Regions from separate parts of the Homo sapiens genome. Here all the other regions are linked to region 3. Evidence: promoter capture Hi-C in 16 types of primary human blood cells and fetal thymus (Javierre and others, 2016). All regions are on one chromosome and are shown on one strand. Each heading gives the region's core, a stretch centred on a gene start or on the middle of the fragment in contact. The rest is flanking DNA. Distances are from core to core; before and after follow the strand shown.

Region 1 (2,700 bases), core at 137-2,636, 580 kb after region 3:
TTGATTTTCCATTTCAAGTGACAAATATTTGAACATCTCAGGTGAAGCTGGAGAAATATCTAATGTCCTTAATGAAGCTCCTCACATAACTGTGTGTTGTGGACACACAGTTACGTGAGGGATCCTCTGGGCAGAAGTGTGTACCCTTACATGTCCACACTCTTCTGGGCCACCGGTATACTTTAGTGAATTGTTCTAGCACACTACTCTCATATTGGCCCTGGCCTATCCTACCTTCTGCGTGAAGCCACATTTGCAAATGGTTAATAAAGTATCTGTTGCCTAGTCATCACTTACTCAAACCCTCCGTAACTTCTCCCAGTGTTTGCACCCAAGTCAAACATCCAGCCATTGCTTCCATCTGCAAGGCAGTGCTGTGAGTTGGGCCATGGTCTGGTCACTTCAAATATGCAGGCTTGCCGACACTTTGAGGATGAAGTACTCAGGAAGGGAGGCCAAGCTCAGCAGAATAGGCTCTGAGGAAAATCCAGGTGATGCTCTCCATAGTAAGTTATGAAGATATTTCCTACCGGTCCCTCCAGTTTTCCTCTCCACCCCCTCCCATCCTCCTTCCCCACACTGACTATAGCAGCGGCTCCCTTGCCTTCTGCCTTCTAACTGGATTCAGCTAACAGGGTGTAGGTGGGTGATCCCTGGCAGGAGGAGAGGGTAGAGGTGCCTACTCCCATCACATGGCTCTCTCCACAAGACCTCCATGTCTAGGTTACCAGCAGCCACTTCCTCCTTTGCCCCTTCAGGTCTTGGATATATTGGTTCCCACTGTTGCTGGCCCTAGAGAACTGCACTAGCTTTAGTTGATTTTTCTAAATTTGTGGTCTCTACTTTTGTAAATAATCTTCATTTTTCCCTTTTGATGAGGGACTCTTGAGTTTGATTTTCTCTCTTTGTAGAATATCTGATTTTATTAGAGGGAACAAGTGAATATAAGCTAGAATCACTTTTTTCAGATGAGGACTTCCTGCTTCAAATTTGGTGCCAGCCTTTCTGAGGATGTGTTTCATTTCATAAGTAGTAAAATACTTCTTCAGCAAACGCAATCTTCTGGTGCATGTCTCCACCCAAAGTCACCTCTCCTGCACTTACAAACCCTGTTAACGTGTAGGCAGGTCAGCTACTGGGCAAGAGGAATGGACAGTAGAGAAGAGGTGATGCCACACAACAAGCTGAACTGCCCAGGTTCCACATGGACAAGTTTGATGAAAAATATTTTCCACATTATATAAACTTCACTCTCTATTCTAGTGGCAGACTATATATCTGATAATTCAGATTAAATTTCATATTTTTACCCCAAGCTATTTTCTATGTGTCTCCATTTTTTATTAATCTTCCCAAAAATGATATATAGCGTCACTATGACTTTGAACTAATCAATACTCTTATTTTCAATGTGAAAAGTTCAATGACAAGACATTTAGTGTGTTTTTTAAAAAGACATCTTTTTTATTGTAGTAAGAACACTTCACATGAGATCTACCCTTTTAATAGATTTTTAAGTGCACAAGACAATGTTGTTAATTATAGGCACCATGCTGTACAGCAGATCTCGAACCTACTCATCTTGTGTAACAAAACTTTATACCCTTTGAACAGTACCTCCACCCCAGCCCCTGGAAGCCGCCATTTCACTATTTCTATGAGTTTGGCTATTTTGGATTCCTCATATAAGTGAAAAACACAGTATTTGTACTTCTGTGACTGGCTTATTTCACCTAACATAATGTCCTCCAGGTTCGTCCATGTTGTCACATACACAAGATTTTCTCTTTTTTAGGGCTGAAAAATATTGCATTGTGTGCGTAGATCACATTTTCTTTATCCATTCATCCACTGATGGACAATTCCGTTGATTTCATATCTTACACATTGAATACTGCAATGAAAGGGGGAGTGCAAATATCTCTTCAAGATCTGATTTCAGTTTTTCTGCATATATACCCAGTAGTGGGATTTCTGGATAATATGATAGTTCTATTTTTAATTTTTTGAGGGACCTCCATACTGTTTTTTATAGTGGCCGCACCATTTTATGTTTCTTCCAGTCTTGCACAGGAGCTCCAATTTCCTCACATTTTTTCCAGCACTTGCTATCTTTTTTTAAAATAATGGCCGTTTTAGCAGATGTGAGGTAATATCTCATTGTGGTTTTGATTTGGATTTCCCTGATGATTAGTAATGTTGGCATCTTTTCATATTCTTGTTGGCCATTTGCATGTCTTCTTTAGAGAAATGTTTATTCAAGTATTTTACCCACTTTTTAATTGGGTTATTAGGATTTTTTGCTATTGAGTTTTAGGAATTTCTTATATATCTGCATATCAGATATATGGCTTGAAAATATTTTCTCCCCTTCTGTAGGTTGGCTTTTTATTCTAGGAATAAACTTAACTAAGGATGAAAGACTTATACAATGAAAACTACAAAACATTAATGAAGGAAAAAAGACACAACTAAATAGAAAGACATTACTTACTCATGGAATGCAAGGCATAATATTGTTACAATGTCCATACTACCCAAAGTGATCTACAGATTCAATTCAATCCCTATCAATATCCCAATCACAGTTTTTACACAAGTAGAAAAAAGCAAACCTAAAATTTATATGAAAAAAACCCAAATAGCCAAAACATATTGAAAAAGAAGAACAAATCTAGAGGCATCATTTTTTTTTCTGAT
Region 2 (2,700 bases), core at 93-2,592, 650 kb after region 3:
AAGACCTTGACGGGGACAGTCAGCACTTCAGTGGCTTATCACATAGACTGCTTGTTGGATCCTATCTTTGAAAGGGTTGTGTTAAAAATTGAACTCATGTTTCATTTTTTAAGTGTGATTTAGGTTCAGTCCTAAATAAAACAATGATATGTGCTTAGTTCTGCAATAACAAAGTCAAGTGTCCTTAGCTGAAGGACCACAAAACCACCATTGCACCTATGATTCAGGCCCATAAGTGAAGGACGGTCTTGCGCCCTAGCATTGTGACCCTGTCAGTCTTTGGGATGCTTTTGGTCATAGATAATTGAGAACAAACCTATTTGGAACATCTCATTCTCTTGTTCATGTCTCTGGAGGCTTCATTCTCCAGAATGGGAAGCAAATCCCCTAGCCAGCCCGAATGCCTCTCTTCCAGGATCTATACAGGAGAAAGACCAGAATTTTCCAAGCACCTGGCCTTTTTTTCTGAGTGCTTGTATGTTTCTATCATTGACCTAAATGATAGGATGAAATTAGAAGTGACACCAACAAAGTTTTGGTTTATGATGAAAGAGCACTTGTTAGTACTGAAGGACTGAGTGCGCCCCCACCACCATTCCTATTTTCAGAGCTGAGCATCATCTTAAATAATGTAATGCTATGATCCTAACTGATTGATTCTCTTGACAAAAAGAGTGAGTTAATGTATCCCTATTATCAGAGAAGAGAGTGGACAGTACAAGAAGAGGAAGTGAGTGGGGCAAAGGTGTTAGCATAGTCCCACTGAGACACATGAGGCTCCTCACACCTCAGTCCTTGTTCTTGCGGTGAGCATGGGCTGAGAGTCTCCATATGGACAGAGTGGCAAGCTGTGACCTCTGGCCCACAGGGACTCACTGGCCACCAGACCCTGGCTCTGTCCCCATCCTCTCAGCTCCTTACCTCCTCCATGTGCCTTGTAGACAGCTACAGGAGAGACAGAAAATTCACAGGCACAGATTGCTCTGATGGTCACCAGAAATTCCAGTGAGAATAGGGACAGGATGACAGAAGTTACTTGACAAGTGGAAATCAGCGTGGCCCAGGCATCTGGAGGGAGTTCCCTGACATCTCTGAGCTGCACAGCCACCTGGTCCAGGACATGCACGTACATGTTCCCCAAGTGAGCTAGAATGGTAGGGGTGCCAAAAGTTTCCAGAAGCTGCTGGTAATCCATCCTGGTCCGGGTGACTCCAGCCGGCAGTGACCCTGGAGTTAGGGGGTGCTCTACAGCCAGGCTGGCTACATGATTTGCAGGGCCCAGTGCAAAATGAACATGCAGGAAATGCAGAGACCTCCCTCTGCAGTCACTCTGTTGACCTGCCATGGTGTTTTTCGTTTGCTATTCCATGTCTTGCTTCAGGAACAGACCTGCGTGGGTGTGTGGACCCATGCCTTGTGACGTGGCACAAGGTGTGCATCCAGCCCAACCCTCCCTGTGCCCATCTCTGATGGGGAGTGCAGCTGCACTTTCTGGGCAGGGTCGGGGAGTGGGCTGCCAATGGCCCATTATTGGATGGACCCTGCAGGAGGATGCAGCCTCCACTGTCCCATCAGACTTAGCTTACAAAACATAAATTCTAAGATAGTTGTTGAGAACTTCAAGACATCCCCACGTGCAGGGCCTTCAGAGTGTGGGCCTTGTACATTTGCACTGGCCACCTGCCTGTGGAGCTACCGGGACTCCAGCACAAGGTGTCTGAGCCAGACTTCAGCATGTGGAAGCCAGGTGTCAGGGGCTTCAGGTGAGGCATGAATGGCCCCCTCTGGCATGCAGCTTTCATGTCTAGATGTGCACCTGGGAGCCCCTTGCACCCCTGACCCTGGCTTTTATTCCATCCTGGAGGAGTTTGCCATGGGCTGTGAGGATCTTAGATCCAAGGTCCACCCTGGGAGGGTGGCAAGGGTTCTCACAGGCCACGCAGTCATTTGCTGAGGCCTTTGAGGTTCTTTACTGAGGAATCAACAGAGGCAGATAACATTTCCTATGCTGACACGGGTCCCTTGTCACAGTTGAGCGTGCTTGAATTATTAAGCTCAGAGATTCCCCCTGGGAGTGAGGGGAGGACACCATTGTGGGGAGCAGGGGGAGGCTTAAGGAAGCCCAGGATGTTCTCAGGCTGCAGTAGCAAACCCTGAGACCCCATAAGAGTGCATAGGAAAGGCTGCTGAAGTTAGAGCCCAAGTTCATCCAGACATCTCTGACTCGCCTCTGAGCAGCTGTGACCTGGCGTGCCTGTGTCCACAGGCTTCCTTGTTCAGCCCTTGCTCTCTAAAGTACAGGGCATGTTTGGCTTGGTGACGACGCCACAGGCTGTCCATGTTGCCCTCTTGAAATGCCCCCTCACCCTGCCCCTCCCCAGCCTAGGCTGTGTGTCCAGCAGCAGCCATGAGCCCCCTGCTTACAGACGGAATGAAGGAAACAGGGCAGAGAGGGCACATTGCAAGTCTGTGGAGAAGCAGCCACAAGGGGTGCGACATGAGTAGATCACAGAACAGAAGGGAAACAGAGAGTGAGGGAAGGTGAGATGGAGGGAAGCCAGCAGCCCACGTGAGAAACGGGCAGGGAGGGAGGGAAGATGGTGGAACCCAGTTAGGTCTGTCCCGAAGCCTTGAGGGGGCTTTCCTGGGAGGGAGCTTAGCCGGGGCGTCCCCTGGGAGGTGCTTGTGCCTGGTGAGCTC
Region 3 (2,700 bases), core at 170-2,669:
CATTTTACAATCCTCTTGTAAGAAAAGTTCTCCAAGTCCCCACCCAACCCAGAAATCCAGCTGGCTTCACCTCTCACTCCCAGGAATTTCAGGGCTGAAAACACATTCCTCGTGGGTGGCACAATCTTCTGTGAATGCCAGGCTAGCAATTCCAGCAGGCTGTTCCTGGATGGACCCTAATACCTGGATCGCACATGAAAACTTGGATTTGGTGCCTACTTCTAGACTGCTGTTTCGTCTCGTTTATTTTCTAGACAAACTGTGCTGCTCCATGGCAGTAGCATCAATATGTCTTTTGTTTCGTGGCGCTACCTAGGGATTTAAATTCAAACCGTATCACAAAATACAATAAAGGTTTATTTACAGCACATTGGTTTCATTTGACGTTCCTGTACCGGACTACCCTGGCAATCGGCTAAAGTTTTGTCAGCAAGTTTGCTGCTGGGATTTTTCTTATTTGGTTCAGTTTACTACAGCCTATCGTAAGTGATGCAGATGGAGTTAGTTTCTAACATGTGAACGTGAGAACTGTTTTGGTTTGGGTCCATCATTAAAACTGAAGAAGATTATTTGGGTTCGATGGTGTAGATTTTTGACTTTTATTTCTAGTTTCTGTGTGCTTTGTCATATTTCCCCTTGCTTCCTAGACGAGGTGTGTTTCCTTATCTGATTTTGCATCACTGGAGAGAACTCAGGAAGCAGGAGAGGCTGAATTGGATACCACGGGGAATGCAGCCCTGCCAACAGAGGACTGGATAGAATTAGAGCAAACGGACACATCCCCCCACGCCTGTTCTCCACAGGGCAGATTTTATTAATATATTTCTAACATTGGGGCCTCGTTTCAGTCTTCAAGTTTTTTCTTTTTTAGCGCAAACTAGACGCGCTCTGAGAGCCAAAATTAGCGTCCGCGAACCCCACCCCATTGCCTCCAACAGACCTAGCTCTCCTTTCCACCCTCAAACAGCCGTTACTACAGTTCCCAGCAAGCACCGCGCAGGGCCGCAAAGGGCCAGGCCCTCGGCGAAGGCCCCGCCCCGCAGGGGGCATGCCGGGAGTTGTAGTGAGTGGGCGCTTCCCTACTACTACTTGTCCCTTCCACTGGGCATTCCCACTTGGAAGAGTGTGATGCGCTGCCAGAGCAGTTTCTCTAGTTCCGTACTCGGAGCTCAAGGTGACAGAGGACTGCGCTTCCAGCCCTGCGCTGCGCATCGCGTCGGTCCCGCGGACCTTTGCCCCGCCTCCTTCCACACCCGTTCCCTTGACAGCTGGGCTGCGCTCCGGGCCGCGGCAAGCCGCGAGCGCGCAGGCGCAGCAGCCCCGCGCCGCGCTAGGCCGGCCTGGAGGGCGGGACAAGCGCTAGAAGCTCCCGGCCGGGGGCGCGCACGTAGGCACGCAGAGGCCGTCACGTGGGTCGCCGAGGCTCGCAAGTGCGCGTGGCCGTGGCGGCTGGTGTGGGGTTGAGTCAGTTGTGGGACCCGGAGCTGCTGACCCAGCGGGTGGCCCACCGAACCGGTGACACAGCGGCAGGCGTTAGGGCTCGGGAGCCGCGAGCCTGGCCTCGTCCTAGAGCTCGGCCGAGCCGTCGCCGCCGTCGTCCCCCGCCCCCAGTCAGCAAACCGCCGCCGCGGGCGCGCCCCCGCTCTGCGCTGTCTCTCCGATGGCGTCCGCCTCAGGGGCCATGGCGAAGCACGAGCAGATCCTGGTCCTCGATCCGCCCACAGACCTCAAATTCAAAGGTAGGCAGAACGGGGACACCCCCGGGTGGGGTGGGGCGCGCGGACCGCTGGCTGTCGGCGGGGGGGCGCGGAGGGCACGTCCGCGGCCCTGGCCCGAGGGAGCGCCCCCTCCCCCACGCCCCGGCGCCTTCCCTTTCCCGGCTGCTTTCTTGCCGCCACCTCGGCCGGCCTGCCCCTTGCTCCGGCCCGCTTCATCCCCTCCCGCCCGCCCTCGCTGCGGTGCGCGCGCCGGCCGGGGCGAGGCGGAGGGGAGCCCGGCCCTGGCGCCGCCGCCGCCGCCATCTTGCGGTCCCGCGGGGGCGCCTCCTGGGCGTCCGGTCCCGCCCGCGCCGCGGTCCGCCTGGGCCCGCGTCCTTGGCCCCAGAGGCCGACGGCGTGCTTCGGCGGGGCGTGGGCGGCTGGGCACCCGAGGGCGTGCGCTCTGGGCTGCGGCGGGGAGTGGGCTCTGGAGGTGGCGCAAGCTGCGTCTGTCGCCCGCTCCCGGCTGTCAGCGGCGCGGGGAGGCTAGGGCACGGCGCGGGACCCCTTGGGAGTGAGAGCCGCCCCCCGACCCCTGCCCCGGCCCGGGGAGAGCTCGCTGCAGCCGGCCCTCGGGTTCCGCGGAGGGCGTCGCTTGTCACCTTTCCGCCAGGTTTAGAACTCGGCCGTCAGGTGTAGGACGCGCCGGGGAGGTGGAGAGTCCTTGGAGGTGCCTGGCGAGGGCTGCCCGGTGCTGTTGGCACGGACCCAGGTGCGTGCGGGCAGGAGCGATGCGTCAGCCGCAAACGGAGAGTTGTAGGTTCATAGTAGCGGGGCTTCCTGCCTTCTACGACATTTCAGTGTGCCACCCGCGTGCTTTTATTTAGCCCTTTAGTTGAGCTCCTCTGCTGAGAAACCTTCAGTGCGTGTGACTTTTTTGCTTTTACGTTTGCGGTTTCCGACAGATCCTGAGAAGGCTGATAAGGTGTCACCCAGCTCTGGA

What was found. The method cuts DNA at HindIII sites, captures the fragments that hold promoters and counts their contacts. A CHiCAGO score of 5 or more calls a contact.
Region 1: a contact is called between a fragment that was not itself captured here and the fragment with the promoter of VAPA in region 3, in 1 of 17 cell types (total B cells). The highest score is 7.5, in total B cells.
Region 2: a fragment that was not itself captured here is called in contact with the fragment with the promoter of VAPA in region 3 in 1 of 17 cell types (fetal thymus); the score reaches 5.8 in fetal thymus.

What each region holds. Positions count from the first base shown.
Region 1 is chr18:10,493,960-10,496,659 of GRCh38, forward strand. No RefSeq gene overlaps it. Among named protein-coding and RNA genes, the nearest start is that of NAPG, 31 kb to the right of the region's middle. The HindIII fragment of the contact is 3,484 bases long and covers 1-2,700 here.
Region 2 is chr18:10,557,716-10,560,415 of GRCh38, forward strand. No RefSeq gene overlaps it. Among named protein-coding and RNA genes, the nearest start is that of NAPG, 33 kb to the left of the region's middle. RefSeq lists enhancers at 2,287-2,346, 2,699-2,700. The HindIII fragment of the contact is 3,185 bases long and covers 1-2,700 here.
Region 3 is chr18:9,912,597-9,915,296 of GRCh38, forward strand. It overlaps VAPA (VAMP associated protein A), which reads left to right and starts at 1,420. Exons shown (of 6, transcript NM_194434.3): 1 at 1,420-1,739. The coding sequence starts at 1,661. It overlaps LOC124904245 (a long non-coding RNA gene), which reads right to left and starts at 1,352. Exons shown (of 2, transcript XR_007066284.1): 1 at 1,116-1,352; 2 at 337-737. RefSeq lists silencers at 1,355-1,404, 1,615-2,404 and an enhancer at 1,922-2,539. The HindIII fragment of the contact is 3,402 bases long and covers 1-2,700 here.